Regions from separate parts of the Homo sapiens genome. Here regions 2, 3 and 4 are each linked to region 1. The links are contacts of gene promoters, found by promoter capture Hi-C in blood cells and fetal thymus (Javierre and others, 2016). All regions are on one chromosome and are shown on one strand. Each heading gives the region's core, a stretch centred on a gene start or on the middle of the fragment in contact. The rest is flanking DNA. Distances are from core to core; before and after follow the strand shown. Region 1 holds the start of PTGDR (prostaglandin D2 receptor). Region 2 overlaps NID2 (nidogen 2). Region 3 overlaps NID2 (nidogen 2). Region 4 overlaps TXNDC16 (thioredoxin domain containing 16).

The links. The method cuts DNA at HindIII sites, captures the fragments that hold promoters and counts their contacts. A CHiCAGO score of 5 or more calls a contact.
Region 2: a contact is called between a fragment that was not itself captured here and the fragment with the promoter of PTGDR in region 1, in 1 of 17 cell types (total CD8 T cells). The highest score is 5.3, in total CD8 T cells.
Region 3: a fragment that was not itself captured here is called in contact with the fragment with the promoter of PTGDR in region 1 in 2 of 17 cell types (total CD8 T cells and M2 macrophages); the score reaches 7.5 in total CD8 T cells.
Region 4: a fragment that was not itself captured here is called in contact with the fragment with the promoter of PTGDR in region 1 in 1 of 17 cell types (monocytes); the score reaches 5.2 in monocytes.

What each region holds. Positions count from the first base shown.
Region 1 is chr14:52,264,024-52,271,923 of GRCh38, reverse strand. PTGDR (prostaglandin D2 receptor) reads right to left here and starts at 4,226. Exons shown (of 2, transcript NM_000953.3): 1 at 3,264-4,226. The coding sequence starts at 4,109. The HindIII fragment of the contact is 7,987 bases long and covers 1-5,688 here.
Region 2 is chr14:52,030,701-52,038,600 of GRCh38, reverse strand. All of the region lies in intron 9 of NID2 (nidogen 2), which reads left to right. Among named protein-coding and RNA genes, the nearest start is that of NID2, 34 kb to the left of the region's middle. The HindIII fragment of the contact is 2,333 bases long and covers 5,484-7,816 here.
Region 3 is chr14:52,045,049-52,052,948 of GRCh38, reverse strand. All of the region lies in intron 5 of NID2 (nidogen 2), which reads left to right. Among named protein-coding and RNA genes, the nearest start is that of NID2, 20 kb to the left of the region's middle. The HindIII fragment of the contact is 4,118 bases long and covers 1,678-5,795 here.
Region 4 is chr14:52,479,717-52,487,616 of GRCh38, reverse strand. It overlaps TXNDC16 (thioredoxin domain containing 16), which reads left to right. Exons shown (of 21, transcript NM_020784.3): 13 at 4,652-4,795; 14 at 5,328-5,387. Among named protein-coding and RNA genes, the nearest start is that of TXNDC16, 69 kb to the left of the region's middle. The HindIII fragment of the contact is 2,463 bases long and covers 3,733-6,195 here.

The DNA.
Region 1 (7,900 bases), core at 2,977-5,476:
TCACCCATGTCTCCCCCTTCAGATAAAGATACAATTGCTAGGTCCATTACTTAGAAGAGTGTAAAATCTCCAATACCTATTCAATGTGTCCAGTAGGTCAAAACTACTGTCATTACAAACATGTGATTTGCCTTTTTCCCCTTCATTCTCTCACAAGTGTACAGTGAATTTTATGGAGGCTAGATAACAAATGATGACATCACTTTCACAAAGAATAGAATATGTGGTTGTTTATCCTTGTGTTTTCTAGACCTTTTAAGGTGGCAGGTTGAGGGTACACACGTGAATTTTCAGAGACTGTTTTCAGTACTTTTGTGCTCTTAACAGGATTTTTCCACTTTACTTGCTATAATCTCTGTAACCTTATTGTCATCAAATCATTGTGAAATCCCCACATTTTCCTTGTACATATGGAAAACACAAGAGGTACATTTTATCTTGTTTTGCAATCATATGTTTAGAATTTCTTAGTTTTATTTTCTAATATGAGAAATACTGATGATTTAATCCACATAAAAGCCATCTGGGTCATTAATAATTTTAAGAGTATAAAGGGGTCCTTAGACCAAAAAAAAGTTTCAGAGCCACTGCCTTAGTATATAGCACTATCTCCTGGGACGATAATCGTTCTTGATTTTTTTTTATGTCCAGCAGGCAACAATAATACATGGAAGTTATAAATAGTAATAATAATGATGCTAATATATTGAGGCAAGACACTGGGCTAGGTGATGAATGTATATATTATGTATGTAATTTCAAATCTTCATTACTATCTTACAAAACAAGTATGGTTATAATCATTTTACAGATGAGGAAACTGAGGTCAGAAAGGGTAAATTAGCTGCTACCATAGCTAGTAAGTGATGAAGCCTGATTCAAAACCATGTCTGATGCTAAAGCCCTTATCCTCTCTAGAAAATAGTGGTTCTTGTGAAGAATGCTGTCAACATTAAATATATTTGGAACTTGCTAGTTTTTTTGGAAAATCTTTTTCAACTCCATTGATTTTCTTCAATCCTCACAATACCCTAGGAGTTATCCAAGTCTCCGTAGAGACATGTCCAAATGCAATGTTCTTTCCACTGTATGATGCTGCTTTCTGCATTGGTCTGACTAAAACATTCAAACTCAGGTCAAAATTTCCATGCATTTGGCTACTGTCTACTTTGTCACAGCATAGATAAGTGAGGCCCCAACTTTACAATAGGAGCTCCTAAAGATTGTATAAAGGACCAGATAGTAACTATTTTAGGTTTTATGGCCAAGAGACAAAATCATAAATATTTGATAGGTACTAATATAACATGGGAGAAAACACATTTCCACAATTTTTTGATGGAATTCAAAATGTATTAATAATTGAGTACAATTTTTTTTTTAGATGGAGTCTTGCTCTGTCGCCCAGGCTGGAGTGCAGTGACACAGTCTTGGCTCACTGCAACCTCTGCCTCCCAGGTTCAAGCGATTCTCCTGCCTCAGCCTCCTGAGAAGCTGGGACTACAAGTGCATGCCACCACGCCCAGGTAATTTTTGTATTTTTAGAGACGGGGTTTCACCATGTTGGCCAGGATGGTCTCGATCTCTTGACCTCATGATCTGCCCGCCTCGGCCTCCCAAAGTGCTGTGATTACAGGCGTGAGTCACCGCTCCCGGCTGAGTACAATTTTTTTGTAATATGTATCTACTAAGGAGAAGAATAAAACGTTTTCTTGGAACAGTATTTTTCTTGAAATAGTATTTGGCTCAATTGAAGCTCAAAACTCTTGGGTCTCATCAAATTGATTGCAGAGATTCATTTGTAAGAATTATTCTTAACTCCAGGGAGATGTAAAACAGTGGCCAGGAAAGATTTGGCCTGTGAGCTGTGGTTTGCTAACTCCTGTTTTAGAGTGTGATTCTACAAATGTGAACCCTGAATCTGAGCTTGCATATCACCTGGGAACTTGTTAAGAATGAAAATTCTTTAAAAATGTCTGAATTAGAAACTCTGGGGAATGGGGTCCAGCCATCTTTTTTTCTAGAAGCCTTGCTGGTGATTCTGAGCTGGTGATTCTGAAGACCACTGCTATATGTCATCTGCGCCTATATCTACATTTAGATAGATATAGATTTATGTATTTGTTTATTTATTTTGGGGGCATACTGTTCCCACCCCTGCATGCTGATGCCCCAGACTTCTTTTTCCGCAAGCAGTAAGGCCTTCATTTAAAGGAAAATCGCTTTGTATTTCCCTTTCATTCACCATTGAAAGTAATATCCAAAATGGCTACATTCTGAGAAGAAATTTAACAACTTTCCTATTCACAGAAGTCTCAGGATTTCGAGAACGTGGGATTGGCAATGGAATTTCTGTAAGTATTGTTTTTGTTGAACAGGTACCTTGGGAGAAAGGAGAGGAGCAGCACTGAAAATGTTTCCTCAAGCCTCACCTACTCCCAGGTGTCTTGGCGGGGACTCCAGGAACAAATGCCTTCAAAATGAGGAGATAATTTCATTTCCATCGCTATCCTCATTACCAAATTGAAACCGGAGATAATGGCTTTCATGTCACCTCACTTGCCAAGATACACTCAAAACCCGTCAAGTCAGGTTGTCAAAACGACACCAGCAGCTAAAACATACAAAGAGCCTCGGCCTCCATCGCCACAATCCCTGGCGGATGCAGCACCAGAAACAGCAGCCGTGGCGTCTCAAAGTTTACGCACGCGTTTTTCAAAATTAAAACTATGCATCTGCAAATCACTCTGGCTGGCTTAAACCTCTTTTTCCCTTTCTATGCCAACACCGGGGAGAAGATCGTCCCAGACGCCATTCGCCCATTTCTGATACCACTGAAGTCATGAGCAGGTCTAACAAAATAAAACATCACCCAGCCGTCGGGAAGTAGAAGACTCCTGTTGCCAAGGAGAAACTAAGTTCTGCTCCTCCTAAGGCGCAAAAATGACCTCGAGATCTCCCCAGAAGGAAGCAGAGAGGAGGGAGTTCTGCCACATGGAGAGGGTTTTGCTGGGCTAGGGAGACACCGCCGGGCTCAGCCTTTCCCTTCCTTTCTCTAACTTTCCCTCATTTCGCTCCGCAAACTGAGTTATATCTCGGGGCTGTGGAAGGAATCCAATTTGGGGAACTCAGCAGCAAACCTTCCTGGCCCAGGGCGCAGCTCGCCTGGCGCCGCGTCCATCCCGATCCGCTCCACCCTTCCCGCCCCGCATCCGCGGCCGGACAGTCTCAGTGCCCTGCTGCCTCGGGGCCCGGGGACTCACAATTACGGGCAGAGAACACATAGTGAAGAGCACGGTCATCAGCGCCAGCAGCAGGAGGTGATCCAGCTCCTCCAGGGGCTGAGGGGACGCTTCCCTCCCGTCCGCGCGCGGCTCGGCACAGTCCCTGGTGCAGGAGCGCGGGTGCCGCTGCAGCCGCCGGTGCATCGCATAGAGGTTGCGCATGGCGCCGAGGTTGCACAGCACGGTGGCGAGGACCAGCAGCGCCATGAGGCTGGAGTAGAGCACAGAGTACCCCAGCACCGACAGCGAGCCCTCCTCGTGGACCATCTGGATAAAGCACCAGGTGCCGGGGCAGTACTGCACGAACTTCCCGAAGCCCATGAAAGGTAGCGCGCAGAAAGCCAGGGAGAAGGCGCTCACCACCGGGGCCACCAGTGCGCCCAGGCGCAGGGTGATGTGCCGTCGGTAGAAGAAAGGGTGCCCTAGGGAGAGCCAGCACTCCAGTGCCATGGCCAGGAGTTGCAGTGTCGAGGAGAGCCCAAAGAAGGACATGAAGAAGGCGAAGGCTTGGCACAACGAGTTGTCCAATGCGGGCGCAAGCACCCGCAGACTCCGGTTCTGAGCGTAGGCAGCCAGCACCACCGGGCTTAGGAGGCACTTGCCCAGCAAGTCGGTGACCGTCAGGCCACACACCAGCATGTAGAAGACCGAGGGCAGCGGGCGCAGTGGACGCCGCGAGCACCACCCCAGCCCCGAGCGCGCCAGCAGCCCCAGGGCCAGCAGGTTGCCCAGGAGGCCGGTGCTGAAGAGCACCCCGCCCATCACCGCCGAGTTGCCTTTTTCCACAGAGGTGGTGTTCTGGCAGCGGTAGAACGGCGACTTCATGGCGTGCGGGAGCAGAGGGCTGGAGTGAAGGCTGCGGAAGGGCGAGGGCCCCGGCGCCCGGGTGCTAAGGAGCCCCCGGCAGCTCCGCGCGCGGCTCGGGCGGAGAAGCTGCGCCACAGAAAAAGCTCCGAGGGCGGCGGGGTGTTCCCCACGGCAGGAACCTCCTATCTAAACTCGCGGGTCACACCCCTCTTTGAGAGGCGGGACGCTCTGCAGGGTGAGCGCCTGGCGCTGGCATTGAAGAGCGCGGAGCAGGCCAGTGAAGAGCTCGGCCCTGACGCGCTGCGTTCTCAGTAGAGACAGACTCTGGTGCCGAGTCGGAACGGCAGGAGGAAAATAGCCAGAATTCCAAGCACCCAACACCAGTCCTTCTAGCGAGGCAAGAGAAGAACTACTAAAGTGGAGGGGAAATTAAGCAGCAGCCACCTGAGAGGAGGGCAATGGTGCTGGTGTTTGAACTGGGGTGGCCAAGAACTCGAAAGATGAGCGAAGAGGGGAGGCTGAGAAAGGGCTTCTACCTAGTTGTCTTGAATTAGCTAGTCAAGGAAAGGTAAAGATAACTCACGTCTGGAAAGCCCCTGAGCCTTAGCTCCTCTTCTCTACTAGATCAGCGCAATTTGGGGCATTCACGGTCATCTCCATTGCATAGGCGAGGAAACTGAGGCCTTGGAAAGTTAAGTGATCTGCCCGTGGTGACAGAGCTACAGAAGTAGCAGAGCCGGACCTCTCACCCGATCTTCTATTTTGGAGTTCATCTGTCCTGTTCCCATGACTCCTCCTCCCAAGAAGTTGTCCAGATTTCAGGGAAGTGGTTTGTGGGAAAGCCAAGAGCCGGTGTTGGTCCTGGGTGCCATGAATCACATTGACTGTAGAGAGCTGGGGGGAAGGGCATGGTTAGCAGCACTGTTGCTGTCATCAGATAGGCCTGGGTTTGAGTCCAGGTTCTGCTCCTCACTGTGTGTGTGACCTTATGGGACTTGCTTAGCCTCTCAAGCAGTAACATCTATCTGGCCTGCTTGGCTCTTCTGAGGCATAGAAATAACACGTAAAGAGCAAGTACATAGAAAGTGCTCAATTCATGCAATCACCATGATTCTTATTTGATAGAAGGGTGTTTTGGTAGCTGATGTTTAACTGCAGTTTTTAGCATGGATTTTGAAATCAGAAAATGGTAGATTTGGCATAGAGCTTTCTCACTCCTCTGATTTGTGGCTACTAGAAAAAATTTATTCCTGTTTGGGCTTTGACTTGGCTGCATCATAAAGGCAAGGGAGTTAATTGTGATAAGCGTGATTTTATATCTTTAACTAGCATTCGATGCCCTGTGAGAGAAATTGGCTTTGAGTGTGGAATCTCAGTGGGATGACTAAGGTTTTGTTATGTAAGTGAGTAGATGATGCCTGGGCTTGAAACGGCTCATTTTTAGGCCTCATGCCAGTTCTGATGGACAGACTCAGGGAAAGAGCAAGACCCTTGGGATTTAGATGTGAAAGCCTGAAGGGTAGACAGAGAGGCTGCCTCCAGACTGAAAGTCTGGCCAGTAATTCAGGCCACAGGGTGGAAAAGAAGAATCTAAGCTTGGAATTAGATAGTTCTGAACTCCACCACTGGCTGTGTGACCCTGGGTTAGTTGTTCAACCTAATGGAATATGAGACTTATGCTGAACTTGTGGGGTTGTTGTGAGGTTGAGAAAACTTGAAGTGCTTTGGCATAGTGTAATAATAATAATAAGAGCTAATATTTATTGGTCCTGATGCAGGTTGGACACTCTCTAAGCCTTTCACTTATATTGACTCAATAGAAGGCCTTGTATAGAGTTAGTTCCCTTGTCTTCTACCTACTCTCTCTCATTCCCATCTCTAGCCCCTAGCACATAAGAATGGGTTTAGAAGAGCCCCACTCGACTTAATGAAGTGAAAGGAAGAGCAGGCCCCATAACCAAAAGACATGAGAATTTGATGAAAGCTGTGGTCTCCTCCATAGACAGACAGACACACACACACACACAGGCACACACACACAGACACACACGCAGACACACACACACACACTTTACATCAATCTCAGGCTGTTCACCATTTCCTGAAGCCCTTCTATGGTACCCAGAGGAGACCCAATGGACACTAGCTTAAGAATCCTTCCTCTAAAAATATTGCATGGGTTGTTCTTCTGAAGCATACCTACTTCAATTCTTTGCAGCTTTATTTTCATGCTACAGTGGCTTACAACTCCGTATTTATCCTAGGAACCCTAAGATTACAAATACCTTTTAAAGAAAACAACCCCAAAGTGTGACTGTTGGGCCAGCTGTGGGTCCTTGATAAGGTTTACATACATCATGCTTTAAGGTTGAAGGTTTTGAACAAGTGCAATTCAGGAAACCACACGTTTCCTCTCAGCCACTGTAGCTGGCCTTTACGATGGGGTTTCCGGTTGCCTTTCCTGATTGCTTTGCTGGTGTCCACCCTACCCTGTTCTCAGGCCTAACTTTGGAGTCTTCTGTCCCAGTTCCCGAGAAATTCTATTTTGTAATTTCACCATACAACCAAGAAAAGTATCATTTGTTCATGCGTCAAATAGTTTTTGCGCTCCTACTCTGTGCCAAGCATGGGGGTGAGGGGATGAAGCATGTGGGCACTGAGGGGCATACAACAGATAAGGAAAGGCAAACATCATGTCGTGTGACCTCTACAGGCTTATACATTTTTATATCAGCTTTCAGAGTAACCAGGCTAAGTACATTTTTTCCTTAAAAGGGAAACCTTTAATGAAAATATCTTAGGCTAAGTTAGTGGTAAAATTACCTCCATTATCTACAGAGCTGTACCAGGCTGCTTAATTGGGTTATAGGACAAATCTTCTGAAAATATATGACATCATGTGGATGACTATTTTAAATATATAATTATATTATGGCAATATAAACATAAAAATCATAGATTCTCATGGACAAGGCTCAGAAGCTGACATAGGCAAATGAAAACATTCACTTAGACTTGAGAAGGGATGGCAGAAAAATATCTCCTTGGTTTCTGATATTTTCAATGTTGTATATGTAATAATTATTTTAAAAGACTTTAAATGTAAAACAAGTGATATGGTTTGGTTCTGTCCCCACCCAAGTCTCATCTTGAATGTAGCTCCTATAATTCCCATGTGGTCATGGGAGGGAACTGATGAAATGTAATTAATCATGGGGGCAGGTCTTTCCCATGCTGTTCTGTGATAGTGAATAAGTCTCACAACATCTGATGGTTTTATAAAGGAGAGTTCCCCTACACAAGTTCTCTCTTGCCTGCTGCCATGTAAGACGTGACTGCTCCTCATCCACCTTCTGCCATTATTGTGAGGCCTCCCCAGCCATGTGGAACTGTGAGTCAGTTGGACCTCTTTCCTTTATAAATTACCCAGTCTCAGGTATGTCTTTATTAGCAGCATGAGAACAGACTAATACAAGAAATGTATGCTTATGGTGGGGATCTAGGAAGGGGAAAAGAAGGAAAAAGGAACATTTATTTTTTTCTGGATCCATTCTAACTATGCTTCTAAATCTTATCCATTGCTCACTTCTACTGAACTCCAAGTGATATTTTGGGCTGGGGCTTGTGAAGAGCAAGGAATGGAGAGGAGGGATGCTAACAAATGATAAACAAACTTAGCTCTCAAATTTGGAGCATGTTCTGCATGCTAGAGACCATGCTAGATGTTCGTTCACATTCAGGACCTGGAGTGGTAGCATAGAAGTGTGGCCATGATGTGTTAGGTCCTGGGAGTCATACTGTGTGAACTT
Region 2 (7,900 bases), core at 5,401-7,900, 240 kb after region 1:
AGTTGGAAACAGAGGCAGAAAAGAGTTTTAGGGCAGGGAACAGTGTCCCTGCCAAAGTCAGGAAATAGAGCATAGTATGTGAAGCTGGTTTATAGCAATACCCAACTGTGCGTGCCAATCAGGAATATACCTGTGAACAAGGCAGACTGGAATTAGGAGGGAGAGTGATGCTGACAAGTATTTGTTACAAGTGTGATGAGAGCAGGGCACTGTGAGTCTAGTTTGAAGATTCAGAAAAGATGTCCCCAAGAAAGTGACATTTTAGCTAAAACAGATGAGAAGAATTTCATCCAAAACTAAGGTGGAGCAAAGAGCTAGTATCTGGAAAAACCAAACATCATAGAACTTGATGTATAACCTCCCCCTCCATGATTCCCAGAACATTATACTTAATGGTGAAAGACTGGATGCTTTTCCCTGAAGCTTAGGAACAAGACAAGGATGTCTGCTGTTGCCACTTTTATTCAATTCAGTACTAGAATTTCTAGCCAGGGTGATTAGGCAAGAACACAAAATAAAAGCCATCTAAATTGGAAAAGGACAAAGTAAAATTAGTCTCAGATGACATTTTGTGTAGAAAATCTCAGGAATTCACTAAAACACTATTAGAACTAAAGAACAAGTTCGCAATGTTATAAGATATGCAAGATCAGTACACCAAATTGTATTTCTCTATAGTAGCAATGAGCAAACTAAAGATTAAGAAATTGTTTCAAAAAGAGATAAATTTTTAAAAAGAAGTGCAGTACTTGTACATTGCATCCCACAAAACATTTTTGGAAAAAAATTTAAGACCCAGTTAAATGGGAAGATGTTCCACATTCATGGATTGGAAGACTTAATACTGTTAAGATGTGAATACTTCCCAAATTGATCTATTAATTCAACATAATCCCTATCAGAATCTCAGCTGGCTCTTTGAAGAAATTGGCAAGCTGATTCTAGAATTTATATGGAAATTCAAAGAACACAGAATAGCCAAAACAATCTTGGAAAAGAATAAAGTCAGACTTGTATTTCTCAAACTCGAAATCTAGAGTAATCAAGACAGTGTGGTCCTGGCGTAAGGATACATGTAAAGATCAAAGGAACAGAAGTGGGAACCCAGAAATACTCACATTAAAAGTCAATTGCTTTTTCAACAACAGTGCCGGGAGTGGGGAGGGATAGCATTAGGAGATATACCTAATGCTAAATGACGAGTTAATGGGTGCAGCTCACCAACATGGCACATGTACACATATGTAACAAACCTGCACGTTGTAAACATGTACCCTAAAACTTAAAGTATAATAATAATAGAATTCTGATGGTTAAAAGACAAAACAAAACAAAAAACACAGTGCCAAAACAATTCAATGGAGAAAGAATAGTCTTTTAAACTATTGTTAACTATGGTGCTGGGACCACTGAGTGACCACATACAAAAGAATGAAGTTGAACCTTTTACCTCACAGCATATCCAACTCAAAATGGGCCAACAGACCTAAGTGTAAGAGTTAAAACTTTTAGAAGAAAACATATGGGTAAATTTTTGTGACTTTGAATTTGCTAATGGTTTCTTAGGTACGACACTAAAAGCACAAGCAACAGCAAAATAAACTGGGTGTCATCAAAATTTTAACAGTTTGTGCTTCAGAGGACATTATTAACAAAGTGAAAACACAGCCATAGAATGGGAGACAGTATTTTAAATCATGTGATATTTGTTCTAGAGTATACGAAGTATCTTACAACTCAATAAAAAAACAAGCTAACTAAAAGATGGGCAAAAGCTCTGCAAGGACCTCTCTCCAAAAAGATATACAGATACCCAATGGGCATGTGTAAAGATGCTCAGCATCATTAGTCATCAGGGAAATGCAAATCAAAACCACAATGAGATACTACTTTACATCATGTGGTCGAGTATAATCAAAAAACGGGTAATAACAAGTGTTGGCGAGAACATGGAAAATTCGGAACCCTCATACGTTGCTGGTGTGATTATAAAATGATGTGGCTACTGTGAAAAACAAAATAGTGGTTTCTCAAAGTGAAACACAAAGTTACCATTTAATGGAGCAATTCTACTCCTTTCTATATACCCAAAAGAAATGAAAACATAGATCCCCACAAAAACTTATTCGTGTATATTCATAGTGGCAGTATTCATAATAGCCAAAAGGTGGAAGCAACATACATGCCCATCAGTTGATGGACACCAAAAAATATATTCATATACTGGAATATTATTCAACCATAAAAAGGAATGAAGTACGGATACATGCTGCAACATGGATGAACTCTGAAAACCTTAAGTGAAGGTAGTCAGTGACAAAGGACAGCATACTGAATGGTTACAATTATGTGAAATATCCAAAATAGGCAAATCCACATACATAGAAAGCATATTCATGGTTGCCCAGGGCTAAGAGATAATGAGAGCATAGGGCGTTAATAGCTAAAGGGTACAGGGTTAATTTTGGGGGTGATGAAAATGTTCTGAAATTGATTGTGGTGACGGTTGGATAACACTGAATAGACGAAATTGTTTAATTATGTACTTTAAACGGATGAATTGTATGGTATGTGAATTACTTCTCAACTGAAGGCCAGGCATACTGGCTTATGCCTGTAATCCCAGCACTTTGGGAGGCTGAGGTGGGTGGATCACCTGAGGTCAGGAGTTCAAGACCAGCCTGGCCAACATGGTGAAACCCTGTCTCTACAAAATAAAACATATATATATATATATATATATACACAAAAAAATTTAGCCAGGTGTGGTGGCATGTGTCTGTAGTCCCAGCTACTCAGGAGGCTGAAACAGGAGAACTGATTGAACCCAGGAGGCGGAGGTTGCAGTGAGCCAAGATTGTGCCATCGCATTCCAGCCTGTGCAACAGAGTGAGACTCCGTCTCAAAAAATAAAAATAAATGGAAGCAAATAGTAGTAGAAACAAAACTCTAAAACCATTCTCATCGGGTACAGTGGCTTACACCTGTAATCCCAGCTACTCTGGAGGCTGAGGTGGGAGGATCACCTGAGCCCAGGAGTTTGAGGCCAGAGTTGGCCACATAACAAGACCCCGTCTCAAAGTAAGCAGTGGTTCTCAAATTTTAATGACCATTAGCCTCACCTGTGAAGACTGATTTTAAAATGTTCTAGGCATATCATGTCACAGAAAGACATGCAGGAAACTTAAAAGCATGTTGCTCTGTGAAAGCAGCTAGTCTGAAAAGGCTACATACAGAATCATTCTAACCATGACATTCTGGAAAAGGTTACACTATAGAGACAGTAAAAAGATCAGTGGTTGCCAGTGGTTCAGGAGGAAGAAGGAGAAGGATGCATAGGTGGAACATGGGATTTTTAGGGCAGTGAAACTATTCTGTATGATATTGTAATGTTGGTTATAGGCCATTATGCGTTTGTCAGTCTATAGAACTGTCCAACACCAAGAGTGAGCCCTACTGCAGACTATGGGCATTAGTTAATAATGTGTCAGTATTGATTGGGGATAACAAATGCACCACACTAATGCACAATGTTGATAATAGGGGAAACTGCACATTTTGGGTGGGGGGATATGGGAGCTCGTACTTTCTGCTCCATTTTTCTCTAAATGTAAAACCATCCTAAAAAGCAAGGTCTTAATTATTAAAAAATGTTTCAAGCAAGCCAGAGGATGAGCTTGTGAAGTCAGGGAACTCTACAGATGGGAAGTGGCTTTGTCAGATCAAGGGGACATTTTAATTCTGAAAACCAGGTCATGTTTTCCCCTAGAATGTAAGAGCCACACCAGGAGAAAAAAACCATCTTCCTCAATTCAGCCACTGTATTGAAACTGTTGAGCCCAGAGTTAGCTCCTCAGTGAGGTGAATCTGTAAGTGATACGCGGTTCTGTGCTTTGTTATTGGAGCTGAGGGCTCCTTAAGCCTCAGCAGGCTCAATAAAGAAGTGTTGCTTCAGCAATATGACAAGATTAAGGTACAAGGACTAGACTCTTTTCTAGGATGCGAAAGTGACTTGTAATGAGAATCCCGAGGTGCTTTGGTTTTAAGAAACTTGGTTGGGAATGTAGGCATTAGGTGCCCAGATATTGGATTGTAAGGTAGCAAATGAACACATGAAAATGTGAGTTGATTTTAGAGGAACATGTAAATTAGAAAGGGAAAGATTGCTGTAGTAGATTTCTCAAAGAGAGATTTAAACCTACTGGGGAGAATGGTCTTTACCTTTAAATGTCCAGGTCAGCCCTGTGTTGGGTGTAGGCATCTGATCTGTAAAAGCAACTGTTAGTGAAATTTCCCAGGCTATGGAGTCCCATTCAGATTCTGGAACCATTTAGGAAAAAGATGTGTCTCTGGGTATATTTTTCCTAGAGACATACCAAATGAGAGTAAGAAAGGATCAGAGAAAGCAAACTGGCAGGTACCAAGTTGCTTGTTTTCTTTAGAATTTTATGATTTTCCCTCCCACCCCAGTCAAATAATAATATCAAAGGATGGTTTACTTGGTGCCAAGTACTGTTCTAAGCACCTTACATGAATTAACTCATTTAATCCCCACAATGACCTCTACCCAATGGTGGGGTGGGGGTGGGGTTATTTGTTATCCCATTTTACAGATGATGAGACTGAGGTATAGAAATGAAGTAATTTGCCTGGTCATAGTAAGTGACCTGGGTGAGCTGGGACTCAAACTCAGGCACTGGCTCCAGTACGCACACCCTTACCCCTCATGGCTCTGCTGTTCCACAGTGGCCTCATGACTGCCTCATAATTTAGACCAAACTTTGAAAGAGGCAATGTGTGTCTTTTAAACCCTTTGTGTTTGAACCCTACTTCATCCACACACAGCAGTACTGTTCATTCTACCTGAATAGGAGGGAAAAAAAGAAAAACAAAAAAGAAACACCCAAAAGTTTTTTCTTTCCCCTCTTGGTACACAGCAGTATCTTCCTAAGAACTGCTCAGTTTTTCCAGAGGGAACGATAGTTGTTGGAATTCATGTGAAACAGCGCAGCTGTCCACACCTGATGTGGGTGTGGTGCGACTTCCCAGGGCGAGGATGCAGAACTGGGGTGTCTTTCCCAGTGAGTAATTGGAGCCTCTGTCCCTCGGTGACTTCTCAACCAGCAGTGCCACCCCCCACCAGTTGTTTGAGCTTTAAGCTTTAAGTGTGAGTCAGCTGTTTTTTGTTGTTGTTGGTTGGTTGGTTGTTTTGTGGGGTCATAAAACACGATCCAAAAATGCTTCCTGTCCTTCCACTTCACGGGTCCTTTTGGCGAGTTGAGGAGGCTCTGGGCAGAGGGCTGTGCAGTGAAGCTGAAGGGACTGTTCCTTTAAGGAAAACCGCTCTTCCCCTTGATTAAATGAGTAAATTAGTTCCAGATCCTCTGTTAAGAGAGTCAGGCAGTTTAAGAGGGTGAGGGCGAAATAGAAAATGTCTTAAGAAGGATACTGTGTTCTTTACTTACTATAATAGGAGAAAAGCTTACAAGTCATAGAGAATGAGTCGTGAAATGGTTTTAGAAATGTATTTTAAAAATGTTTTGGGAAGCCAAGTTCAGTGAATGGGGCCCTGTGCTCAGAAGAGCCCCATGCTTGGTTTAACGCTTTGCTTTGAACCATGGGCTCCACATTTTCATTTTGCACTGGGGATTGCAAATTATGGAACTAATCCTGTCAGTGACATACATTTTAAATCAGTATTGAGTAATTAGGGACACTTTCTTCTCAATTTTAGGTAGGATAATATATCCTGTCCAAGTTTGCAAGTCAACTTTTGAGCTGAGATTTTTTTTTTTTCTTTTAATGCCTAGCAGGGTGGTAAGCTCTTGATGTCCATGTGAACACACTAATCTTTGCTGGAATGTGCCATGGTGAAATTTTGATGCTGGAAAGTACTGAATAAGAAGGCTAAGCATTAGTATTTATAAATCAAAACATGTTGACAATTACTTCCTGCTTTGGTGGGGTATGCCAGGCATTTTGTACAGAATCTTCCTAAAATGGAGAAATGATGGGAGATGATCACGTTCTTGTCTTACATTGGGTCCTAATGGATGAAGACATGACCTTGTCCTTAGTTATAACCTATTGAGGACTGACTCAGGAACCTGGTCTAGGCTCAAGTTAACTCGGCAACCACAACCCCAGTGCGGTGCCTCTTTCCTGTCAGCCAAGAGATCCAGAGGAACGGACCTCCAAGGATGTCTGCATGCTTCAGGGAGCTAGGCTTATGCTGACATAGTTCATCAGGTTTAAAAAGTGCTGGAATTATTTATTGGTCCTTTGTTTTGGCAAAGATTCTGTTACTCCAGCCGACAACATTGTGGTGAACTGAGGATAAACCCATAGCCCTCCTTATTTTCAGCCAATAATACGGGAATCAATAATACGGGAATATTCCACTACAAGAATGCACTGTGGTGTTTCTTATAAAGTGGGATGGAAAGAGTTTACCAGAAAACAAGGCTGTCTCAGCCAAGGCATCCCAGCTCACAGCAGGCTATGACAGGGCACTGGAAGAGCCATAACGTGGGCAGTAGGGCAGGCACGGGGGAGAATGCCAGACACCCTGAAGGACTTGGGAGCGAGTCCAGTCTATGAGGTCAGCTGCAGCAGTCAGCACTTGGGATCTAGATTAGGAGTCACTCTGGGCAAGTCTCCCCCCATAGCAGTGGGGTTGTGGTTGCCAAGTTAACTTGAGAGTATAGACCAGGTTCCTGAGTCAGCATCTGTTACAATGGAGAACAACAGGGTCATGTCCTCATTGAAGGCTCAGTATAAGACAAGAACCTGATTCTCTCCTGTTGTTATTTCTCCATTTTAATAGAAGATTCTGTACAAAGTGGGGTGGGAGACACGGGTCAGAAAGAGTGAAATGATAGAGAATCCAGGAGGAGGTGGTAAAATGGGTGGTACTGCCAGTGTCTGCCTACAGATGCCATGATGCTGGTGTCTGTGAGTAGTGAGAACTGGTGAGCAGGATGGGACTCAGAGGATGCTAAGCTGGCTATCAAGACAGGGCCTCAGGCACAGAAGTATGAGGCAGAAGCCTGAGTTATTACAACTTAGATGGATCTCCCTTTGTAGCAGAGATGGCTCAATGTAGAACCTGACAGGCTTAGCTGGGGCTCTGGAAATCTTTTGAGTCTAAGATTAGAGTTAATTCTAGGGACTGAGGTTGAGCTAGAACCTCAAATAATGATGAACAGTGGCCCCACTGAGAAGGCAGAAGGAGTGCAGTCAGTAGAGACTGGGTAGACCTGCCAATGGGGAATTGCCTTTCAAATATGTTCTGTTGGGTTTTCTTAATTTTCTTTAGCAGGATTGGCAGATGTACATGTTCCTATTTCCATTTTACATGGCAGACTCAGAAGTACACAGAAGTGCCAGAGTTGATAGATTCATTCTACCTGAGCATCTGACACTCCTTCCAATACCTCTGTGCCATTGGCTTAGACTAGATAACTTCATGAAGTTCCTTCAGTGAGGGTTGCAGCAAAGCGGTGGAAAGCATGAGCTATGGAACCAGACTGCTAGACTTTTATTCCAGCTCCATCCACCTCTTCTGACTGTGTAACCCTGGGCAGGTTATTTGGCCTCTCTGTGATGCAGCAGAAGTGGAGATAGTATTTTCCTCACCATGTAGTTAGAAGGATGTAATCAGGCATCCTCCTATCTGTTTAGAACAATGCCTCACACATAAATGCTCAATGAGCATTGACTATTATGTAGAAATAAATATATATATTTTAAGACATGGTCCTGTTCTGTCACCTAGGCTGGAGTGCAGTGGCACAATCATGGCTCACTGCAAGCTTAAGCTCCTGGGCTCAAGTCATCCTCCTGCCTCACCCTCTGGAGTAGCTGGGACTACAAGCATGGGCCACCATGCTCGGCTAAT
Region 3 (7,900 bases), core at 2,487-4,986, 220 kb after region 1:
AGGAGGGAGATGGCGAAAGCAGGCGGTGGTTAATTATCATGGACATGGGGTCTATGTCAGTCTTCTAGTCCTTGTTGAGACTTGTCATGCCAGCTGTTTCTTCCCCATCAGACATGGAAAGATGTGAATGGGAAACTGACTCCAGATTGTTTGTTCCAGGGACTGCTCATCTGACCTCTGATAGGAAGAAAGAGGTCAGAGGTGACTGCTTTGTTCTGAATCTCCATGTTTTTCCACCTTTTCTGTTTCCTGTCACTGTTGTGGCAAAAACATGGCTGACCTAGCAGAGAGGGCCTTCTGGGTTCTGCTCTGGTATTATCTGCAGGCTATTGCATGGAGAGGTACTAATTTCAGGAGGGAAGAAAATATTTTCTGACTAATGTGGCATTGTGTAAGGATTCGAGGGAGTACATTGGTGTCGGCTTCGAGTTTGAATCCTGGCTGCCAAGCTTGCTGGGTGACCTGAAGTAACTTATGTAACCCATAAGCCTCTGATTTCTCAGGAATTACTTGGGAGGATTCAATGAGACAGCGTATGTGAAGTTCTTGGCTTCGTGTCTGCACTCACTGGTTCTTAATAAATAGTGGCTGCTGTTACTAATTTTAGAAGATTTAAAACAGTGGGAATGGGGTGGAGGATGGGTAGAGAATGAAGAATGTGCTTATTAAAGAGTTTCACATTAATTTGTGCCTAAGGGACCACATTTCCATGAAGTTGAAGATGTAAATTTTATTGGAAGTCTTTAGAACCTTCAGATCCTTCTGAGAATCTCCAGAATTTACAGTATGAGTTTCCTCTAAATACATTTTAAGGCCAAGTATCAAAGATTTTCACAAAGGGATTTGAGGTAAAGACGCATTCCTGAATGGCCTTCTCATTTGTGGGTTGTGATTTCCTTCCCTGGGAAGAGCGTGGGAATATTAAAAAGCAGATCTATGGAGTCATGTATTAAAGGGTTAAGAAGGGACTGCACACCCTGCTTTGGGCTCTGAGAGCTTGAGATCACTGGAGTAAAGTGCAGGAGGCTTCAGGAACCAGCCATAGAGTAGAACAGAGGCACAGCTATAACCCTTGTGGGGCATGAACTATGATATTTATCAGCTGCCGGATGCAGTCTACTATAGACATCCTGGTAATGGCAAAAAACGCCTGTGAAAAAGCTGGTTAATACGCATTTTGGAGGAAGAAATCTAGAAGTGTTTGAAACTTAGACAAAAAAAATCCAGTTTTTGTTTTAAAAGAATTTACGGGGATGTATGAAGTATAGAAGCATGCAATTGTTAAATACTTTTGAGGGGATGCAGTGACTGTTTCTTTCACATAAAACATTGGAGGCTCAGAGGTCTGTCTGGTAAGTGTGGGCTTCCTCCGGGAAGCTGTGGGGTGGGAGTGGCAGAGACACAGAACATTGTCCGGTACTAAGTACCCAGCCATGTGGCATCTGCCTGGCTTTTTCTGCTGATGGAATAGAAAGCACATGGTTTTGGTGCTGGTTGGACTTGACCTTGACTCCCAGCTCTGCTATGTGGTTTGGGGCAAGACATGTAGTCTGTTTGACCCTTGGCTCTCCTCAGCTCTAAAACAGAGTTAATGAAGACCTCGTCATATACTTGCAAGAACTGAAATTGAGCTTGGGAAGCACCCTGCCCAATACATTTTAGTTTCCCTTTGAAGCTTTAGGGTAGTCATCTTGCTAAACCAAGAAATTAAGATTTAGTTAAAGGCCCAGAAAATATCACTCCTTTTTACATTTTTTTCCCCTTAGGGACTCATTTTACAGACCTTTCTTTTTGTTCAGAAATTTAGATTTTCAGATCATATCTACACCAGGCAGGAATGTCCTGGCCACACTCGAGCTCTGTCTTCCTAGGCCACAGAACAGCAGTAGATGGATGTGCAAGCATGCTTTCTCTGAGGAGTCTTGTTTCCAGGGAGCTCTGGTCGTTTTGTTGTCAAGTCAAAAAGTTACCCAAGCACCTGCCGTGTACCTGTCTCTGACTCGGTGCTAGTGGAAGTTTTGGCTGGCATTTGCTAAGTGCAGCCTGCTGCTCTAAAGTGAGAACTTGGCATTAGATTGCATTATCACAGTTAGTCCTCAGAATTGCCCTGTGGGGAGTTCGAGACCAGCCTGGGCAACATAGGGAGACCTTGCCTCTATAAACAATTTTAAAAATTAGCCGGGTGTGGTGGTGCTCACCTGTGGTCCTAGCTACTCGGGAGACTGAGGTGGGAGGATCACTTGAGCCCAAGAGTTCCAGGCTACAGTGAGCCATGATTGTACCACTGCATAGCCTGAGCAACAGAGAGAAATATTGTCTGAAAAAAAAAGTTGTCCTGTAGGGTAGGTACAATCATCCTTCCCATTTTACAGAGATGGAAACTGAGCTTGGAAATACTTAGTGACTTGTCTAGCAAGGGCAAAGACTGCAACAAAGTCATGAAGAAATTAGAGAAAGCTGTAGGGTGACAGAGAGTCAAAGGCACTGTCCAGGAGTGTCACTGCTGTTGGGGAAGTCTTTGTGAGGAAGGAGGGGCTTGAGCCAGGCCTGGGGTCAAAGTCTGAGAGGGAGAATGTGTGAAAACATTATGAACAGAGAAGTGACAAGAGCGGAGTTGCAGAGATGGGAATGAGGAGGGAGGAAAGGAGGGAGAGAGACAGAGACAAAGGTTGATTAAGGCAGTGGGGTGAGAGAGTTGCCAGTGAGGGCTTCAGCTGCCTGGGACCATGGGACTGCCTGTGTTGTGAGTAGAAAGGAATGAGGTTTACTGATAGGGGTCTTAGTTATTCTTAAGCCTGCTGAGGCAGTGCTATACGCAGCTTAATTTAATCTCAATCTGCATGATGAGTTAGGAGGAAGGACACCTGGCTTTCAGAAACCTCATGTAGTCCCACTCCACTTTTGGCCTTGTGAAAGGCTGCAGGAGTGTGTTGCAAGCTCAACTTCCACCCTGAGAAGAATTTAAGCAGGTTCTGCTGCCAGTGCAACCCTCCAGGTGCCAAAGACCATCCCCTGGGTGCACCTCCAGGTTGCAGAGGGTCTGTGACCAGGAGCCGCCGCCCCCCGATGCCTGTGAAGACACCTATATGAGGAGATTCCATGGTAGGGCCCCTCTCCCTTCACCAGAAGTGGAGAGAGCCTGTTAGTGTCATGCCAGCAGTTGTAAAAGGCCACCCCCAGGGTCGTGATCACTGCCACCAGCATCATTACATGCCACACACATCAAAATTAAACAAACATGAAAACTGGACGAAAAAGCATTCCACTGTTTGTTATAAAGTTGGATATGGTTTTTCTAACTAGTCTGTCATTCTGAGAGATGGGAAAACTTAGAAGAATTTTTCCTGCGGTGAAAATGACTTTTTTTTTTTTTGAGGTAGCAGTAAAAATTGTTAGTAGTTGCTCCAGCTGTCCTGAAGCAGCCCTGTGCACGAAGCCTCCTGTGTCCCTCTGTGTTGGCCCAGTGAACCCAGTCGACACCATGGAACCTCCCCTGTGTCTGGCCCAGGGCCTTCTGTGAAGAAGGGCAGGCCGGCCAAGGGCTGCAGACAGGTGCTTAAGTGTTTCTGGGAAAATGAAGATTGAAAGATGGCTCAGAACAAGTGCAGAGGAGAATTTTCCATTTTTGTTACGAACTCCTAGTTAGGACAAGTCTCAAGTCCTTTGGCAGGGCATTTCTTTCTTTCCTCTGATATCTCCCCACCCCATTTTTCTTTCTATTAAGGACATGAGAAAAGTTAAAAACAAACAAAAAAAACATTAAATAGAAAAAAAAGAGATTTAAAAAATCTTCATGTTAAGAATCCTTTAGCAACTATCAAACCTCAGTTAACAAATCCATGACAAAATGAGTTCATTCAAACCTGGCCAGCCTCCACCCTCCTGCTGTGCCCTGAGGTGTCAGCAAACTTCTTTATGGTCTGACTCTCCGTGGCAGGAGCTTCCTGGCATAGTGTGGGTCCCAGAGGAGGCCATGGACTAGAAACTGTATTTCTCAAAGTGTGGGCACTCATCCACCTTCCTCTCACTCAGCTGGGAGCCTGGTTAAAAACACTGATTTCCAAGCGCCTCCTCTACCTTCTGAACCAGAAACTGCATTTTTAAGCCACCTCACTCCTTCAACACCTCCAGGCCTCTGCCCAAATGTCTCCTTCTCCCGAGGTCTTCCCTGACCATACTATTTCAAAGAGCCAGGTGTGCCTGCCCTCTCTCACCCTCTTGTCTGACCCTGCCATATTCCTCTGCACTTCAGTGATTCTGATGCCCCCTCAATTTGATGGGATTTAGAGCCAGAAGATTGTTTCATCTCTGTAGGCCTCAATTTTCTCATTTATAAAATGGAGATATCTTCTAACTAGAATAGGAAGAAGTGCATGAAAATACACTCAAAGCCATGATAGGGACATGAAAATGACCACCGAAAAGAAAAAGTGCCACTTTTCCTCGGGTGGGTTTATTGCACATCTCATCTAGCTGGGATCCAGATCTTGATTCCCAGCCTTCAAGAAGTTCAGCCTCTTTGAATTTCACTGCAATTCCCATAGAAATTTGAGCAGTCACGTTGGCCGGAGGTCTGGCTTTTCTCGCCCTGGATAAATAGCTGCACGTGGGCTCAGCACCGTTCTAGCTCCAGGTCTCCCCCTTCTTCAGGGAAGGGCTATCTGGCTGCTGTGCGTCTGTATTACTTTCACTAAAGAATCTTCACGTTGTATTCTTGTGGATGGATGCCCAAATGGGCCGTAAGCACTGAGCTCAGCTTCTCAGGTGGCCAGAAATGAGCACGAGAAATTTCCTAACATTCTGCCCACCCCAGGAGCTGCCAATTGGTCAGATTAAATTTGTTAACGACATTGATGAGCAACACCTAGCTCAGAAATCCAAGGCTTGTTGTATCCCAAGCCTTCTATCAACACCAATTGGTGTGAGAATCACTGGCGGGGTGGCTAAAGTGTAGATTGCTAGGATGCACCCAGAGAGTGGAACTGGTAGGTCTAAGGTGGGCCCTCAGAATTTGCATTTTTAACAGAAATCTCAGGTGATCCTGATGCAGTGGTCTCTGGAATCCACCGGGAGAAATGCAGCTCTCCGTGTGAAGGACTGCATGGTGCTGTGCTGAGGGTGTAAGTTGTTATTCACCCCTTGGTGAATTTCCTTGATGCCTCATGCTGTTGTCAGAACTGAACCCCACAAACCTGCTCCTCCTCAGTCTCCCTATCTCAGTAACTGGCAGCTCCACCCTTTTGGTTTCCCACATCAGGACTGAACATCATCCCACATCCAGTCTACCAGCAAACCCTCTCGGTTCCACCTTCAGAATATCCCAGACCTGGGCCCTTCTTATCCCCTGTACCAGCACTTCTTACCACCAAGGGACCAGCTCCTGTCTGATTTACTGTAGTCGGAGCATGTTACTCTTCTGCTCGAAACCCTCTAGTGCTTCCCATCTCACTCAGATGAAAGCTCAAATCCTTCCTGTGATCTCTGAGACCCTGCATGAATGACCCAGGCCACCTCTTCTCTCACCATCCCTCCCACATGCCCACACACCCCTCCTGCCTGACACAGCACCACGCCTGCCCTCATCTGTGGGGTTCACTCCCTCACCTCCTCCTGGCCTCTGCTCAGTCACCTTCTCCTGAGGTCTTCCCTGACCATGCTATTAAAAAGAGCCATGTACACCTGCCCCCTCCCACCCTCTTGTCTTTCTCTGCTGTATTTCTTTGCACAGCTCTTACACATCCACCCCACTAAGTAATTTACTTGTTTATTGACTGCTGCTGGGGAGAATGTAAGCTTCAGGATGTGAATTTTTGTCTCTTTTGCTCCCTGCCATGTCCTCAGTTTCTAGACTAGGTACAGGTCTATAGTGAATGCTCAGTAAATACTTGTTGAATTAGTGAATGAATGAACAAAAATTGTAAGAAGCATTTACCTTTCACCTAACAAGCTGCCATTGTAAATGGTAAGTGTGCAAACCTGTGTGTGCACTTGGGTATGAAGGCAGGCGTGGAAGAGGGATTATAAATGGAGGCTTGCCTTCCCCCGGATTAGGGGCTGATCCATCTTCTTTCCTTCATGTGGCTGTTATGAAGCTGAAAGAGACAGTGTGTGTTCTTGGCTCAGTAAGTACCATCCTAAAAATACAATATTCCACAAAACTGTTTAAAAAGACTCCCAGGTTAGCTTAACAGTAACTAGTTAGCCCATTGTAATTACAGTTTAAGTCTCATAATAGCCTTTCATGGGAGCCTGCTCATTGTTATAACTTCTTTTTCTGTAATAGAAAAATGTAGTACAGCTTCCAATCTATTTATAAACCTTTGCACAGTTGCACTTGTAAGTTGCTGGCTGCATCGCCCTGCCTCTTTTTACTTAGATAAAAGCTATGACTCCACCTAGTTTAACTCTCCATATCTAGACTGTCTCTCCTCCATCTTCTCTCTCCTTGTTTCATAATTCAGCCTCAGAATAAGAATTGGGTTGCAGAATAAGGCTTCACAAAATAACTGAAATAAGATACAATCCAAGCCTGTTATTTCCTTAATTTGTGGGCAGAACAGCTTGTAAAGTTTGGATTGATTTTTATCTGAATATTATGAAAACGGCTTTTTTTTTTTTTTTTTTTTGAGATGGAGTCTCTCTCTGTCGCCCAGGCTGGAGTGCAGTGGTGCGATCTCGGCTCACTGCAAGCTCCGCCTGCCAGATTCACGCCATTCTCCTGCCTCAGCCTCCCGAGTAGCTGGGACTACAGGCGCCCACCACCACGCCTGGCTAATTTTTTGTATTTTTAGTAGAGACGGGGTTTCACCGTGTTAGCCAGGATGGTCTCAGTCTCCTGACCTCGTGATCCGCCTGCCTCGGCCTCCCAAAGTGCTGGGATTACAGGTGTGAGCTGCCGGGCCCAGCCAAATGGCTGTTCTTTAGACCTATAGCAGATTGCCTTTTTACTTGGTGTTCAGAAGTACATTAAGAAGAAATGCGACTTCTGGCAATGCAGGGGTGAGGAAGAGGTGTTCTACTTATTTTAGAGATGAGGAAGCTGAAAGACAGTTTGCATAGTTTCCACAAAGCCCCCGAGGGAGGGCTGAGGTTGAGTCCTAGAGCTTGGCGCTTTCTGCAGCCCCTCATTCCTTGAGCTCTGGGAGAAAGTCCTGATGGCCCTTAAGCCATGAGCACACTGGTGAGTGTGTGAGTCCCTCCTGTAGCTGCTTCCTTACACTTAGTTGTGAATTTCTGAGCTGGAGAAACCTGAGATTTTGACACATCCAAGTTACATTCATTTCCTTTTACTCTAAATGTTTTTTTCCCTTTCTTAAACTAATAGACAGTGATACAGTTTTCTTCACAGCCATCTATTTTACCATGATCCATCCTGGGTTTTTTTTTTTTTTTTTTCTGCCTTGAGTTTTATATCACTTTTCTGTTTAAGTTAAGCTTGTCACTTTCTTGTTTAAATAAAGTTGAGTCATGCCTAATTTTCTATTTTTATCAAACTGGAATTTCTTAGCCAAGTCATCAAGGCCCTATACTAAATCTTGAGTCATAACTTCATTCCTACTATGTTCTAATCAGATTTTCCACTTGAACCTACACTGTCTGTCCTGCCAACCCTCAGCTTGCTGCTTTCCCAAGGATCTGCAGGCAGCACTCCAGTACTGTTCAAAAGCTAATGCCGCTGCTGCTACTCTCATTTCTTACCTGTGCTGTTTTTCAACATGCTGTAATAGTCATCTCGATAATCTTCCCTGCTTGCTTCTACCATTAAACCCAGTTTATAAAGTATGACTCGAATTATACTTGAAGTCTGTGCTGATTAACCCCAGACATGTGGTGACCCCTAATCTAGTGCTCATGATCTCCGTACTTGGATCCCATTGAAGGGGTCGTGGAGAGTAGCAGT
Region 4 (7,900 bases), core at 3,715-6,214, 210 kb before region 1:
ATTTGATATTTTTTAAGTGTAACAGTTGGGCAATAGTGAAATAATTATTTCTGATACATCTTTCATAACATTAATCCTCTTCTGTAATTATTCATTTGCTTTTTTCTCTTCTCTGCTAGTCTATAAATATTTCTAAATCAAGGATTATGTCTTGTTCATTTTTGTATAACATATATAGTAAATACTTGAATGTTTTATATAGTACCATTATGAGCTCCAAGAAGGAAGCAATTTACATATCATTTTCATGAGGTCCATGCATTGTGATCAAAATCTATATTATAAATTTAGTAAGAGCTTTCACTCTTACCAGTGACCAGTTTCTTGGTTTGAGCAGAGCTCTGGTTCTTTTCCGATATGCAGGGGTTAGAATTGCTTGTGTTCCTCTCTGGAGTTCTCAGTGGGCTTGTCATTACATAAGCAGACCTGTGTTCTGGTCTCTTGTTTCCTGCTTATTCCTGTAATGGTTCCTATATTTGAACCTTCAGAGTTAGAGGACTTGTCCCTAGTCTCAGTTTATTTGATTCCTGTCTTCAGTGGGAGTCGCCTGTTTGAAGATTTCTTTGTGGCCACAGCCTCTATATTGTTTCCTGACTCTGTGGCCTTACTTACCCTCTGATGCTGCCTTCTCTTTCTGGTTTTTATTTCCATTTTTTTAATTGACCAATAATAACTGTACCTATTTGTGGGGTACATAGTGATGTTTCAATACATACAATGTATGGTGATCAGGTCAGGGTATTGAGTGTATCCATCATTTCAAACATTTATCGTTTCTTTGTGTTGGAAACATTCAATAACCTCCAGCCTGTTTCTAGTATTTCTTTTGCAGCTTTGCCTTTTTTGTTTATTTTTCATCTTAACTTCCTATTATCAGTAATCCATACTGGCCCAGAATGTTGTATGGTGTTGTGCCTGTATCTAATTCTTCCCCCTCCCTCTGTATCACTCCCGTTTACAAAGGAAAACTAGATAAGGGTTAGGAAAGAATTTATTACCATCTGAGAATGTAAATCAGAGACAGGTGCACCCCAGAGAAAATCAGCAAAATGGAATCAGAATGAAAAAGACTAGATTCCACAGAAGGGCAATCTGAAAAAAGAAAAGAAGCATGTGTTCCAGCCTGGGCAACATGACAAAACCCCATCACTACAAAAAATACAAAAATTAGCCAAGATGGTGGTATGTGCCTGTAATCCCAGCTCCTTGGGAGGCTGAGGTGGGAGGATTACTTGAGCCCAGGAGCTGGAGGTTGCAGTGAGCTGAGATCTTGCCAGTGCACTCCTACCTGGGCAACAGAGTGAGACCCTGTCTCAAAAAAAAAAAAAAAAAAAAGCAGCATGTGTGACTGAAAATAGTGTGTATGTTATTAATGAATAGGTTGAAGGTAGAGCTGAGGAGTGACTAAATGTACAAGTGATGGTAGCTTATTTAGAATATAAGAAAAGAGGGAAAGGAGGAAAAAGAAACAGAAGACTGACAGGAAAATGAAAATATATGAATAATAAGAAAAAAATACAGTAAATAAGAAAATAGGTCTTTACTAAGTTTGGTATTGAGAATGTAATTTTTAGTGTCATGGAATTTGGTGCTTAAAAGTACCTTTAAGTTATATAGTGCAACTCTCATGCTTCACAAGAGTTGAACATTGAGGCCCAGAGAGTTATGTGATTGACTAGAGTCGTATAGAAAATGGCTGAGGTTGTAGTGAAATCCAGATCTAGAATTTTAATTTATTGTATGGTCATGTGTCTCCTAACGATGAGGATAGTTTCTGAGAAATGCATCATTAGGTGATTTCATTGAGCAAACATCATAAAGTTCACTTACACAAACCTACATGGTGTAGCCTATTACACACCTAGGGTGTATGATATATCCTATTGCTCCTAGGCCACAAACCTATACAGCATGTTACTGTACTGAATACTGTAGGTACCTATAACACAATGGTAGATATTTATGTATCTAAACGTGTAAACACAGAAGAGGTACAATAAAAACATGGTATAAAAGATAAAAAATGGTACACTTGTATAGGGTACATACCATGTATGGAGCTTGCAGGACCGGAAGTTGCTCTGGGTGAGTCAGTGAGTGAGTGTAAAGGCCTAGAACATTACATTATTGTAGATTTATAAATACTGTACACTTAGGCTGTACTAAATTTATAAATTTTTTTTCAATAATTTGTCTTAGCTTACTGTAACTTTTTCACTTTATACATTTTTACAATTTTTAAAAACATTTTGACTGTTTTGTGATAACATTAAACTTAAAGCACAAACACATCATACAGCTGTACAAAAATATTTTCTTTTTTTATATCCTTATGCTATAAGCTTTTTTCCATTTAAAACTTTTATGTTTTACGTTTTAAACTTTTCTCTAAAAACGAAAACACAAACACACACATTAGCCTAGGCTTGTACAGGATCAAGATCATCCATATTACTCTCTTCCACTTCCACATCTTGTCCCTTTGGAAGGTCTTCAGGGACAGTAACAAGCATGGAGCTGTCATTTCCTATGATAATAGTGCCTTCTTTTAGAACACCTCCTGAAGACCTACCTGAGGCTGTTTTACAGTGAACTTTTTATTTTATAAGTGAAAGGAGTACACTCTAATGATGAGTATAGTAAATATATAAACCAATAATCTAGTCCTTTATTATCATTATCAAGTATTATTTACTGTACATAATTATATGTGCTGTACTTTTTTCTTTTTTTTTGAGACAGAGTTTCACTTTTGTCGCCCAGGCTGGAGTGCAGCGGTGCAATCTCGGCTCACTGCAACCTCCACCTCCTGGGTTCAAGTGATTGTTCTGCCTCAGCCTCCCAAGTAGCTGGGATTACAAGCATGCGCCACCATGCCCTGCTAATTTTTTGTATTTTTAGTAGAGACGGGGTTTCACCATATTGGCCAGGCTGGCCTCGAACTCCTGACCTCAAGTGATCCGTCCACCTCGGCCCCCCAAAGTGCTGGGATTACAGGTGTGAGCCACTGTCCCTGGCCTTATGTGCTATATGACTCACAGTAGGTTTGTTTACACCAGCATCACCACAAACATGTGAGTAATGTGTTGTGCTACGATGTTACAATGGCCACTACATCACCAGATGATAGGAATTTCTCAGCTCTATTATAATCTTAAGGGACTACAGTTGTATATGTTGTCCATTGTTGACTGAAATATCATTATGTGGTACGTGACTGTATTAGAAATTATGTATAAAACAATACTTTAGTTCTATGAATGTATTGTCTTCTCTCTCCCTTCTTTCTTTTTAATGTGTTGTTACAGAGAATTACGAACATACGGAGAGAGAATAATAGAACAAATTCTTGTTATCCATTACTTGGCCCCAGCCATTATCAAACCATGGCTCATTCTGCTCCAATCACCCCCCCCCCTTATTGTTTTGTAGCAAATCCAAAACATGTAATTTCATCTATAAGTATTTCCCTGGGTTTCAGAAATATAAGGATTTTCCTTTTTAACATTAACATAATTAATACTATTATTACATCTAAAAAATTAACAATTCTTAATACCATCGTATATCCAGTCAGTGTTTGAACTTCTGATTGCACCATGCTCTTACATGCCACTGTGCCTTTGCTCATGCCATTCTCTTTGCTCTTTATGCCACCACTGCCTTTCTTCTCTGCCTACCTGAGTTTTATTTTCCTTTTCATGTTCATGTTTTCATGTTCATAAAGAAGCTTTATCCTTTAATCAAGTTATATGCTCCATCTGTCTTACCGTACAATCTCTACAAACTTCCAACAGAATATTTATGAATCCAAATGTATTTTTGAAGGTACATGGATGGTTGGATGGATGGATGGATGGATGAATCTATCAGTCTATTGATTGGTCTATCTAAAGGAAGGGTTTCACATATTCAGAATCCACTCATAACTTGAGGCTTTTTGGATAAAATCCAGACTTCTTGGCTCATGTGACCTCTTATGATCTAGCCACTGCCTAGCCTAGAGTTTTCTCATGCTGTTTATTCTTTCAGCCCCATCTTGTCTTAGTCAAATTTGCCTTCCCTCAGCCTTGTATGTGCTCAACTCTTTTATGTCTCAGAGCTTTCGTATATGTTATTGTCTTTGTCTAAAACATTCTTTTCTTGATTCTCTACCTGGCAGACTTTGGGCTTCCCAATCTAAATAGCCCTGTTATAATCTCTCAGTGTATCCTTTACCTTTCTTCATAAATTGATCATAATTTATAATTATATATTTATTCAGTGATCAGTTTATCTGACTTTTCCATAGATAGAAGTTCCATGTGGTCAGGACTATGTCTGTTTTGTTTACCAGTTTTCCTAGTGCCTGTCATAATGCTTGGCATATAGTAGAGGCAAAATAAACAAAATGGCACTATTAATATTCTTTGTAGAACAAATTTTAATTTTGAAATTGACTAAAACTTCCCAACTTCTAGGTCAGGAAGCATCTCAGAGTCAGTTAAGCAACTGCAAAGTTTTCTAAATATCATGCATCCTAACTATTAAGATAGGATGAATTCAAAAGTTTGTATAAAGTACTGAATTATTATATGCTTCCTATGAGAAGAGCTTAAATAGTTTTCATTATACATCAATATTTAAATTAATTTCTTTTCCAACATTTTAGATGTTCAGGATGATGAAGTGGCAGAAACTGTTTTCAGAGATAGGAAGAGAAAATTACCTTTGGAACTTACAGTGGAACTAACAGAAGAAACATTTAATGCAACAGTGATGGCTTCTGACAGCATAGTACTCTTCTATGCTGGTTGTGAGTATGAGCCTTTAGAGGACTGTTACATATTAGGACATTTAAAAACCCAGATTTAATTTTTGGCATTCCATGTATTGCATGTTGTAAAATGAAATTGCTTTCGTATGTCTCAAGTAGACTGTGTGCATTGAAGCATTTACTTCTGATTCTGGGATTGTGCAATTGATTTATATCTGATTTACAAATTAAAGGTGAATGATTAAACTAGATGTTCATTAATTTTGAAAAATTGTGACTCACGCTAATGATTTTTAACATATTAACAGTTATTATAGATTTATAGTAAGTATATTGCTTTTATCTTCAAATCATAGCCATTTAGCTATATTCCTTGCAGTACAAGTGCGGAAAATCAGTTGCATTTGAAACTCTCTTAAGTGGTTGGACTATGTTGAGAAATGTATAGTAGAATATTTCTGATTAACAATAATTTTGGGAAACCTCATAAATCTGTATATTTGTTACATATCAGTGTGGATGCTTTGTAGATATACATGTAATATCTGTTGAATTTTTAATTTTCATATAGGGCAAGCAGTATCCATGGCATTTTTGCAATCCTATATTGATGTGGCAGTTAAACTGAAAGGTAGTGTACTGTGCTATGCATGCTTATTATTCTGATTCTAAGCTGTAGCTATTTGTAAAACTATGTCATGCAAAAAATATAGAAAACCACATAAAATTTCAGTTACTATGTTTGTGTCTCCAGGGTTAAGTTAATGAACCAGGAGTTTCAAGAGTGCTTAGGAGCATTCACTTTGATTTGTCTTCATAGAACTGTCTTTAGTAGAAAGTAGAAAGCCTATGTATTTAGTACTTGTGGCTACACAGTTAATACAACAACCTTTTTGGTTTAAGTCAGTCATTCAGCAAGCATTTATGAGTGCCTACTCTGTGCCAGTTACTCCAGTTAAATACTGGAAATAAAAATTTGGCAGATTCAAGACCCAGTCTCATGGTCTAATGAGAGATCAAAAATCCCCGTGTCCTTGAAACTATATAGTTTACTCCTCATGGATGGAATGCTTTTTAATATCCAGGATCTTTTTATGTTAACCATCCTGTGAAACCTCATTTAATAGTGGGCAAATAAAGATCCAAGGAATGGACTTTAACTGAAAATATCTGTGCTACCATCTCAGCAAAGACATAGGGGAAAATGAGGGAGGCCTGTTAGTAAGAGAGGTAATAATGGATTAGGTGTGCTTGATGTAAGTTCCTTATGGTTAGGTAGTGTGCCTTATATCAGCTTACTGGGCTTGGCATATTGCCTTACATTGCAGAATATCTGGTTTTCAATAATTGTTGGATAAATGAATAATAGAGTTTCATAAATTTTGTTTCATTTAGTGGAAACTATGTACTGATGTACAACTTATTTATACATTGAAGCTTTTGAAAACTCAAGAAATTGATTCTAGACACTCAACCCTAAGTGTACCATTCCTTTTTTAAAATTTTTTTTTATTTCCATAGGTTACTGGGGAACAGGTGGTGTTTGGTTACATGAGTAAATTCTTTGGTGGTGATTTGTGAGATATTGGTGCACTCATCACCTGAGCAGTATATACTGTGCTGCACCCAATTTGTGGCCTTGTATTTCTTACCCTATTCCCACCCTTTCCCCTTGAGTCCCCACAGTCCATTTTGTCTTTCTTATGCCCTTGCATCCTCATAGCTTAGCTCCCAAATATGAGTGAGAACATGTGATGGTTGGTTTTTCATTCCTGAGTTAGAATAATAGTCTCCAGTCTCATCCTGGTCACTGCAAATGCCATTAATTCATTCCTTTTTGTGGCTGAGTAGTATTCCATTATATATATATATATATATATATATACATATATATATATACACACACACACACACACCACAGTGTCTTTGTCCACTCGTTGATTGATGAGCATTTGGGTTGGTTCCATGTTTTTGCAATTGCAAATTGTGCTGCTATAAACGTGTGCAAGTATCTTTTTCATATAGTGACTTATTTTCCTTTGGGTAACCAGTAGTGGGATTGCTGGATCAAGTTCCTTTTAGTTCTTTAAGGAATCTCCACACTGTTTTCCACAGTGGTTGTACTAGTTTACATTCCCACCAGCAGAGTAGAAGAGTTCCCTGTTCACCACATCCACGCCAACATCTATTATTTTTTTATTTTTTTGATTATGGCCATTCTTGCAGGAGTAAGGTGATATCTCATTGTGTTTTTGAATTGCATTTCCCTGATCATTGGTGTTGTTGAGCATTTTTTCATGTTTATTAGCCATTTGTATATCTTCTTTTGTAATTGTCTCTATTCATGTCCTTAGCCCACTTTTTGATGGGATTGTTTGTTTTTTTCTTGCTGATTTGTTTGAGTTCATTGTAGATTCTGGATATTAGTTTTTTGCCAGACGTATAGATTGTGAAGATTTTCTCCCATTCTGTGAGTTGTCTGTTTACTCTGCTGGACTGTTCCTTTTGCTGTGCAAGAGCTCTTTAGTTTAATTAAGTCTCAGCTATTTATCTTTGTTTTTATTGTGTTTGCTTTTGGGTCCTTGGTCATGAAATTCTTGCCTAAGCCAATGTCTAGAAGCGTTTTTCCAATGTTGTCTTCTTTTTATTATAGAATTTTTATAGTTTCAGGTCTTAGATTTAAGTCTTTGCTCCATCTTGAGTTGATTTTGTATAAGGTGAGAGATGAGGATCCAGTTTCATTCTCCTACATGTGGCTTGCCAATTATCTCAGCACCATTTGTTGAATAGGTCTTTCCCCACTTTATATTTTTGTTTGCTTTGTTGAAGATCAGTTGGCTGTAAGTATTAGGGTTTATTTCTGAGTTCTCTATTCTGTTCCATTGGTCTATGTGCCAATTTTTATGCCAGTACCACACTGTTTTGGTGACTCTGGCCTTATAGTTTCAAATAGGTAATGTGATGCCTCCAGATGTGTTCTTTTTGCTCAGTCTTACTTTGGGTATGTGGGCTCTTTTTTGGTTCCATGTGAATTTTAGGATTGTTTTTTCTAGTTCTGTGAAGAATGATGGTGGTATTTTGATGGGAATTGTGTTGAATTTGTAGATGGCTTTTGGCAGTATGGTCATTTTCACAATACTGATT